2 separate regions of the Homo sapiens genome follow, and region 1 is linked to region 2. Evidence: promoter capture Hi-C in human tissues and cell types (Jung and others, 2019). All regions are on one chromosome and are shown on one strand. Each heading gives the region's core, a stretch centred on a gene start or on the middle of the fragment in contact. The rest is flanking DNA. Distances are from core to core; before and after follow the strand shown.

Region 1 (4,374 bases), core at 871-3,370, 680 kb before region 2:
AGTGAAATGACTCCTGGAGTTGCATAAATTCAAATTTACACTTCTGTAAGAGACACAGGTAGGGGTGGGACTTTCTCTCTGCAATCACAGCGCTCATGAGGCTTCGGGTCCAGCAGACACTTGGGCATTGATACTTGATGAATAATGAGAAGATGAATGAGTGGATAAATAAGCAAACATCTCAAAGCCATCTAACAGCCCCAAATCTGGATTCACACAGCAGGAGAGACAGGCACAAGTCAAGACCATTTTAAGAAGTCAAGGTTACCAGCCTGGCCAACATGATGAAACCCTGTGTCTCCTAAAAATACAAAAATTAGCCAGGTGTGGTGGTGGGAGCATGTAATTCCAGCTACTTGGGAGGCTAAGGCAGGACAATCACCTGAACCTGGGAGGCAGACGTTGCAGTGAGCTGAGATCACGCGACTGTACTCCAGCCTGGGCAAAAAGAGCAAGACTCCATCTCAACAAAAACAAACAAACAAACAAAAAAAGTAAAATTCTGTTCTGATTATTTGCTGACCTGTCAAACACCTGAGAGGTTATATTTGTTTCACAGATTGGAAAACTCAAGTTCAGAGAGGCAAAGTGAAAGGCCCAGTTTAACCTTGAGTGAGTAGGTATATTTAGATACAACCGCCACCTCCAAGTGGAAGCAAGGTGTGGGGCACCAACCCATGCAGTCTCACCTTGAGGTCTCCCTGAAGATTCCTGAACTCTGGATAAATAAGTAGAGTTTAGAGTTTCTATATCCCTGAGGAGGATGAGAATTGCCCAAAAAAAAATCTGCAGACCTCTAAACATATCAAATTAAAAGCTACCAACAGGGGCTGGGTTGAGAAGTGAAGGTGAAAAAAAATCCCAACTCAGAGTGTGTGTAAAATATTTTCCCTGGAGGACTTAGTACAGAAATAGTTTTAATTAACTGTGCATTTCATTTAAGCTTAGCAGGCAAGTTATTGTACATTAAATAAATACCAGTTGGTTATTAAGAATGTATTTACTTCTGACTTAACAACTACAACAGGTTATAGATACAGATTTCTGTAAAAGCACAGTCTGGTACATTTGTTTGGAATAATCAATTGTTCTTTACTCAGGATATAATAATTGCCTTATTGAATCTGGAGAGGCTCTTCTCTTGGCAATTCACAGCAAAAAAAATCTCATTTAGTGATTCTGTTCTTTTCTCCCAAAGAAGAAGAAGGAGCAAGGAAGACAGAGATTTTAGAACCCAGGTCTCTGACTTAAGGGGCAAGTTGGCCCAGTGCAGATTTACCGCAGCCTCCGCATCTGGGAGATGTGGACATTGGACCAGGCAGAGAAGCCCAGGTAACTGAGTCTAAATAACAAACAATTGTTTAGTATAAGTATGTCCCATACAATGTTTGGGACATACTTATAACAGTTATTCATGACCTATCTGAAATTCAAATTTTACTGAGCATCCTAGATTTTTGTTTGCTCAGTCTGTCAACCCTATTCTTGATGAGCCACAAAGGTATTGAGTGATATGTAGAAGGGTGGTATATGGACACCACCCTCAACCCTAGCTCAGTTCTCCATCTACAAGATGCCTTGAAGTGAGTGAAATGAGCTGGACAGACACCAACTTTTATGCCCAGATGCAGGGGGAGTCCCCCAGATCCTCTAAACAGATACCCCACTCAGCAGTAGCCCTTACCTTGTGTTCTCCTGCTCAATCTCCTCTGTGGGTCACAGATCACATGGTCATTGATATGGTTTGGATGTGTTCCCACCCAAATCTCATGTTCAATTATAATCCTCAATATTGGAGGTGGGCTTAGTGGGAGGTGATTGGATCATGTGGATGGATCCTTCGTGAATGGCTTAGCACCATCCCCTTGGTGCTGGTCTCTTGAAATCTGGTTGTTTAAAAGTGCGTAGCACCTACCCCAACTCTTCCTCCTACACTGGCCATGGAAGATATGCTTGCTTCTCCTTGCCTTCTGCCATGATTGTAAGTTTCCTGAGGCCTCCCCAGAAGCCAAGCCGAAGCCTCTATGCTTGCGTACAGCCTGCAGAACCGTGAGCTGTTCCTTATAAATTATCCAGTGTCGAGTATTTCTTTATAGCAATGCAAAAATGGACTAATACAGTCATACAGTCATGAGGTTGTCCTCTGGCTAATAAATGAAGAAAGTGAGGGCCAGGAAGCCAAGCGACCTGAGAAAGATTACACAGCCAATTGCTGGAAGAGCTTGGTTTTATGATCATCATTCATCATCGTCATCATCGTCATCATCATTTATGATGATCCACTAGTACTAGTATCAGGAAGTGTTAATCTCATGTCAGGCCCTTTGCTTAGGAAACCATCACTGTAACCCTATGAGAACGATATTGTATTGTTTCTATTTTTTTAATAGCTGAAATCAAAGTCTCAACTCAGAATCCACAAATTCTCCCCATGACACCACGTTACTCTTTCCTCTTCAACTTGTTTTCTCTCTTTCTTCACTTCTTCTATCCTCATCTATAAAAAAGTCTACAGTATCCAACATCTACTAAAAGCCCAACGCTGAGCCAGGTACTCTGGTGAACTGATAAAAAAAAAATGCAAAATGAAAAAGATTTAGAGGCAGCATTGCAGAGTGGCTAACAGCACAGAGCATGGAGCCCAATTGCCTGGATTTTGAATCTTAACATCTGCACTCACAAACTGGTGAACCCAGACAAATTATGTAACCTTTTGGTGCCTTCCTTTTCTAATTATAAAATGATATGATACGATAATAGTGCTTAGAGTAGTGCCTGGCACATGGTAAGCACTGTATAAATATTTACCATGGCTGCTAGCATAACAAAGTGCCTGAAATCTGAGAACTGAACAATTAGCAGAGCTCAGCAGAGGCTGCAGAGCACAGAGCTAGATCCTGCTTTGTGGCTGGTAACTGCCTTCCTTTCCTTTGCTATCTTGAAGCCATTGGGGAAATAGCCCAGGTCAGCAAAACATGCTCTCAAACACTATGTATTCAACCTCAAATCCCATGTTAACCATAACATAAGGCCAATAAACATGATAATCCAGTTCTAGGATTTTTAGAAGAGTTTCACTTTCAAATATTCTTTTACACTATGATCAGAAATCATGTCGAAGTATTCAAATTTCCATCATTTATGAACCCATAATACTTCAGCCTGTCTTCTCCGATCATAAGCAGCACATCAAACTGCTGTGAGACAGGACTCCCACTACCCAACTACCAAAAAGTTAGAAACATGATGACCACACAGGTAGCCATACTGTTATACATAGATATATCAGATCATATTAAGACAGAAATTTACGTTAGGTCTGATATTAAATTGCAGTTACTGAAATAAATAGCCTGGTATTTATTATATCAGATATGATTCCAAAATGATTGAAAGAGAGCTTCCAAAAATACAGAAAGTACAGGATGTATATAATTGGCCATCACAAAAGTAATGTGAATTTCTAAAAATTTAATTAAAAATAAGTGGAAGACCTTAAGACCAGTCATCAGACCTTAAGACCAAAAATTAAAGTAAAATAAAACTATTAAGTAAGTAATAAGCCATCAAAAGTTTCCATGACCAGATGCCTTCAGCAGTAAATTCTACTAGTCCTTTAAGGATGAGATAATTTCCATATTATAAACATTGATCCAGAGCATCGGTAAAGATGAAAAGCTAACTGAGTCATTTTATAAAGTTGGCATAAGTCTTGTACCAAAAATGAAAAAGATGAACAAAAATAGTAAACTGTAAACTAATTTCACTTACGAATATAGATGCTAAGTCTCTAAGGAAAATAATAGCATATGGAATTCAATAGTACATTAAAAGAATGATCAACTGTTACCAAGAATGACTCATCCTAGGAAGGACAGGACATGATATTATTAGGAAGTCTATTAATACAAAATACCACATCAATTAGAAAAACTTAAAATAATCTCAATGGTGGCCACCAAAGTTATTCAATAACATTTTTTTGGTAAAACCATTTGGAAAAATAACAATGAAAGAGAACTTGCTAATAAAGACTATCAAGTTTAAACTACCTACCTATATTATACCTGCTCACTGTGAGCCTAACAGTTATCTACTGCCTCAATAATGCTGTGTAACAAGTCACTCCAAAGCTCAGTGGCTTAAATCAACCATAATTGGTTTAGCTTATGAGTCTGAAGGCCAGCTGAGTGGCTCTTCTAGCCTTCACTGAGCTCATGCTCATGAAGAAGGGTGACTGGTTTGGGGATTATGTCACTGGGTTTCAACTTGGTTGACTAGCATAACTCAACTCTGCCCCAAGTATCTCATCTTCCAACAGGGTGCCACAGGCATGTCTTTCTCATGGACATAGAAGAGTACACTGGCGAGCAA
Region 2 (4,777 bases), core at 1,216-3,715:
GCCCTGCCCTCCCACTGCCGGGGCCCTGGGGGTGAAGCTTAGATGGAAGGCAGATGAAAGTTTCTCCTCCCTCCACCAGCTCCTCAAAAGCAACACCTGGGGCCAGGCGCAGTGGCTCATGCCTGTAATCCCAACACTTTGGGAGGCTGAGGCAGGTGGATCACCTGATGTCAGGAGTTTGAGACCAGCCTGGCCAACATGGTGAAACCCCGACTCTACTAAAAATACAAAAAATTAGCCAGGCGTGGTGGCCGACGCCTGTAATCCCAGCTGCTCAGGAGGCTGAGGCAGGAGAATCGCTTGAACCCGGGAAGCGGCGGTTGCAGTGAGCCGAGATTGTGCCATTGCACTCCAGCCTGAGCGACAAGAGCAAAACTCCGTCTCAAAAATAGAAAAAAGCAGCACCCTCACCTGGGCCCCCAGCCTTCCCCTCTCCCACCAGCAGGCCCTAGGTAAGATGAGGTGAACCAAGGGAGAGACTCAAGGCAGGGTAGGCTCCCTACGTTGGGCTGCACCCGGAAGCGAGAAGGAGAGGCTGATAACGGGGCTGGCCCAGGCTGGGGATAACCACAAGGCAGGAAGACTCGGGGCCAGCAGCTAGCCAGCCCACACCTCCTCTCCACCTCACCCTGGGGAGAGCCCCCAGGGGAGAGCAGGGCAGCCCCCGCCCCCTCACCTGTGACTGCGCTGCTGTACAATTCATTTTCCTCCATGCAGGGCCGGCTCTGCTTTCCCTCTGGCCCCGAGAGCTCCTTCCTCTGCCCCTAGGGAGGAGGCGCCCCGTCTCATCACCTTCCCCGATCCCCAGGCCCCCCTCTGGCCCAGGCCTTCTTTCAGGCCACCTCAACCTGCTGGCTCTGTCTGCACACTGGGTTCGGGTCCCCCCACATGGAGGAAGCACCCCATCACCCTGACCTTGACACCTGTAACACTTGCCCACAGGAAGTATCTAACACCCTCGGCCTGCACGCCCCCTTGCCCTTTCCGCACCCCGCGCGACTCACGGGGAAGGCCAGGAGGCAGATGGCCTGCACCCAGTCGCCGCGCTCCGCTGCAGGGGCCGCCAGGAGGTACAGGCGCTCCTTGGTCTCCAGGAAGAAGGCACTGGTGTCCCGGGGGCTGCTGGCCTCTCCGCCGGCCTCGGCCACCCGCAGGCAGTCACTGAGGCGGATGACCTTCCGGGCAGCCTCACACCGACGAGGCTTCTCCGGGCCCTCCTGCAGCTCCAGCCGGGCCAAGGCGCAGTCCGACCCTCCATACAGTGAGGCGCCGAAGCGGCGCCATTTCTGTGCCAGAGGCGTGGGAGGCGGGGGCGGGAGGGAGCCACCCAGAGACGGGGAGATCGTGAGCCAAGGGGAGAAGAGGAACCGTGGGAGGGGGACTGGGGCAGCCACTTGGAGATGGGGAGAGAGAGGTGAAGATCACATGAGACCCAGGGAGGCAGAGAAGAGGACAGTGACTGCAGGAATTAGAAAATCGGAGATCAGCCGCCAGCCCCGAGAAGGAGGCCCACGAGCAAGAGCAGAGACTGCCCAGGCAGAAAGCAACGCCGGGATGAGCCCAAAGCAGGCTGCAAGAAGGCCAAACAGGCCCACCGCAGTGGACTCCAGTCTGGGGAGGAAAGCGGGGCAGTGGCCGAGGCCCAGAGGAGGGAGTGAGGAGGGCGGCGTGTGACCCGGGCTGGAGACCTCATTCTCCTTCTGTGCGAAATCCTGAAGGAGAACTTCTCTCCACCCTCCTGAACCTTGCTGCCTCATTCCTTGATAGGTTGGGCCATGAGAGAGAGACAGGTGTGCCCCCCAGTGTTGGTTAGGGGACGAGGACTTCCTGGTTCAAGGAGGCCAGGGAAGGGGAAAGAGGATGGACAGCCGGCTGGGGTCCAGGCCCCCAGAGGCCCCAGCCCAAGCTGAACACCAGCCACATGCACCCCACTGGGGTTGGGAAGGAACCTCTATTGTCATCCTAAACTGTCCCTCCAGCTGCCCCTTCCATTCCCTTCCAAGGTGTCCGGTGAAAAGAAGTCAACATAGAGCAAGAGAGCAAAAGAGGCAAGAGATGAAAGCAGCACATCCCCCACCCCCACCCAGGGCAAACAGCCCTCAGTAAGGAGCACAGTTTGGGACCTGGTTGGGGCCTGGTTCAGGAGACAGCGTCGGGTAGGAAAAGAGCCCTCCCAAAGTTGAGCTCTGGGTCTAACTTGGTGGGTGCACAGTCAGACCTATAAGGGTTTTGAATATGAAACTCCCTCTCCAACCCAGGAATTCTAGCAGCCTCCCAGGCCCCCTGCCCAACCCCAGCCCAGCCTCACTCCTACCTTTCCAAACGTCTGCTGCTGCTGAAGATACAAGAAGCCTTGTTTCACTGCCCCGTCTCCCATCCTCTGACCATCTCGGAGCCCCAGGCTTCAGCTCTCTCCTTCACTCCTGCCCTTGCCTCTCTCTTCTTAGCCGTGTGTTTCCCTTCTCTGAAGTTCATTTCCTCTCTGCCTAGGGTTTTCTATACTATTCTAGTCTGCTCGATGACGACAGGCTGATAGGCCCTGCGGTTTCTTCTGAGTGTGTGTTCTTTTTTTTCTTTTTTTTTTTTTTTTCTGAGTGAGTTTTATACTCAAGCTTCCTGCATTTCCAGTGAGTTAGAGACAATTTCCAAAAAGCTAAATGCCAGCTCTTCAGTGAGCAACAATTCAGGTACAGAAGTTGGCACAGGGAGGCGCCAGCAAAGAGTGGCTGGCCCACTGGAACAGAGACCCAGAAACCAAACTAGACAGTGAAATCAGTAGTGAAGGCCCCCCCCTCCAAGCTGTACGCAAGTTGGAAGGGACAAACCACTAAGTTACAAATAAGGAAACAGGCTTGGAAAGTCTGAGGGATTTATTCAAGGTCACCAAACCAGAACCCAGGTCTCTCAACGCTTAACAGCTGAATGACACACACGGCACTGCACAGAGAGACACATAAGACAGCTCATGTGGGCCTAACCAGATACCAGTTTCACAAACACACACACACAGAGAGAGAGAGAGAGAGAGAGGCAACCGTTTAACTACATGCGAGCACTCCCTGTCTGCCAACAACACACACTCACACCAACCCTGTAAAGATTCTAGAAAGATGATCATCCCCTCTGGAGAAGGGACTGACTCCCCAAGTACATCTCAACTGTTGGATTTTTGCCTTCTTGCAAGCATTCCTGAGCATTAGAAAGATGCTTAGGTTTCATCTGCAAATTATCTTAAGTTTCAATAGCAATCACTTTCATATACATTTTGAAAATGGTTCAGAGTTACCGAAAGTGCTTCGTAGCTCGCAAAGCTTCTAGGCACACACTTTTCATCAGCCACGCCATCCTTTGACAAAGGCAGGGCAGGTATGAACACACTTATTTGCAACTTGCCTGAGGTCACAGAGGTAGTTGGGGGCAGAGGAAGAAGTAGAGACCAGGGCTCCTGATCTTTAATTCAACATTTTGCAGGGCCCCTAAATGGAATCCAGATCCATGCAAAAAGATCCATTGCTGTGGGGAAATCCAAGCTGCTCAGAGAAGTTTAACTTAAAGCCAGATGGTTTAGAGAAGCAATCTGTATGGAGGCACAGTGCAGAAGGGTTGGAAAAAACTGAGACTCAGACCAACACTCTTGGGGTTAATCCCATAACAGGTGCTTATATAAACAGGCCCATTTCCTCTACAACAGGGGTTCAGTTACCGTGGCAAGGAGCGAGCAGCACCGTGCACAGCTTAGGCCTTCTGCTGTACATGCCATGGACTGGACCAAATAAGCTTGAAAAAAATGAATGTCATGAGCTCTGTGAGGACAAGGATGAGTCACTTCAAACTCACTGCCCTCAGCCGTGATGCCTGGGTTTGAAGAGGTTGATCCAAAGCTCAAGGGAGAACCAAGCATACTGTTTTGGGAAAAGCACACCTTGGGAAGTGGTTAGGGGTATGGAAATGGGATGTGACCTAATCTTCCTCTTTAGTCCCTAAGGAGAGTCAACTCTGCCTGGGAGCTGCATGGTCTTTGGTGCAGGGAGTGAGAAGAGGAGGGCTTTATGGCCATCTTAGGGGCTGCCAGAGCAGTGCCTTCCAAACTGTAACATGTAGATCTTGTTCAAAGTAGACTCCAATAAAGTAGGTCTGGAATGAGCCCTGAGATGCTGCCGGTGGTGGGTGGGTCAAAGCACACTGAGTAGCAAGGTGACAGAGGATGTCCCCTGCTAACCTGATCGCCTTCCCTGAAGGCAAAATGGACACATTCCACTCAGAACCACAGGGGGGCACCCAAGTTTACCAGATTACTTGAAAGTTGTTTAAACCCGGAGGCCTGAACCCCAGGCAATCCAGACACTCCCTTGTCATCCCTTGCTTATGGAAGCTGGAGGAGTTCTCCGGTAGCCGTTGACTGCAGAAGATAGGGCAGCAGAGTATATACCAAGAGCAACACCCTTGCAGTCCTTCTAGGCCCCTTCAACTGTCCCTAGCAGGATTTGTGGCGACCCTGATGTAGAAGCACTAACCCCAGTACCTTCTGCCTAGCCATGGGGAAACCCTGTAAACAGGAGCCCAGAGACATTGCTCCAAGACACAGCAGAAGCGCACAGAATGAGAAGCCCTTAGGGTCCACAGGCACCAATGATGTGTAGAAAAAGCACTGTAAAGGAGTTGAGGGTGCCTCTTGGCTTGTCTTTGTTTTTACGGGAAAGGAAAAGGCACTCCAAACCCCACCTGTGGCTCATTCTAAGCCACTGGGATCCTGTCCCTTACAACAGTTTCTCTCAGC

Evidence for each region. Contacts are between HindIII fragments. The study calls those that stand out against the background at their distance.
Region 1: a fragment that was not itself captured here is called in contact with the fragment with the promoter of DOK2 in region 2 in 1 of the 25 tissues and cell types used here (dorsolateral prefrontal cortex).

The regions. Positions count from the first base shown.
Region 1 is chr8:21,231,679-21,236,052 of GRCh38, forward strand. No RefSeq gene overlaps it. Among named protein-coding and RNA genes, the nearest start is that of LINC03093, 64 kb to the right of the region's middle. The HindIII fragment of the contact is 3,534 bases long and covers 354-3,887 here.
Region 2 is chr8:21,911,225-21,916,001 of GRCh38, forward strand. It overlaps DOK2 (docking protein 2), which reads right to left and starts at 2,466. Exons shown (of 5, transcript NM_003974.4): 1 at 2,315-2,466; 2 at 1,005-1,286; 3 at 677-764. The coding sequence starts at 2,377. RefSeq lists an enhancer at 384-483. The HindIII fragment of the contact is 2,220 bases long and covers 1,325-3,544 here.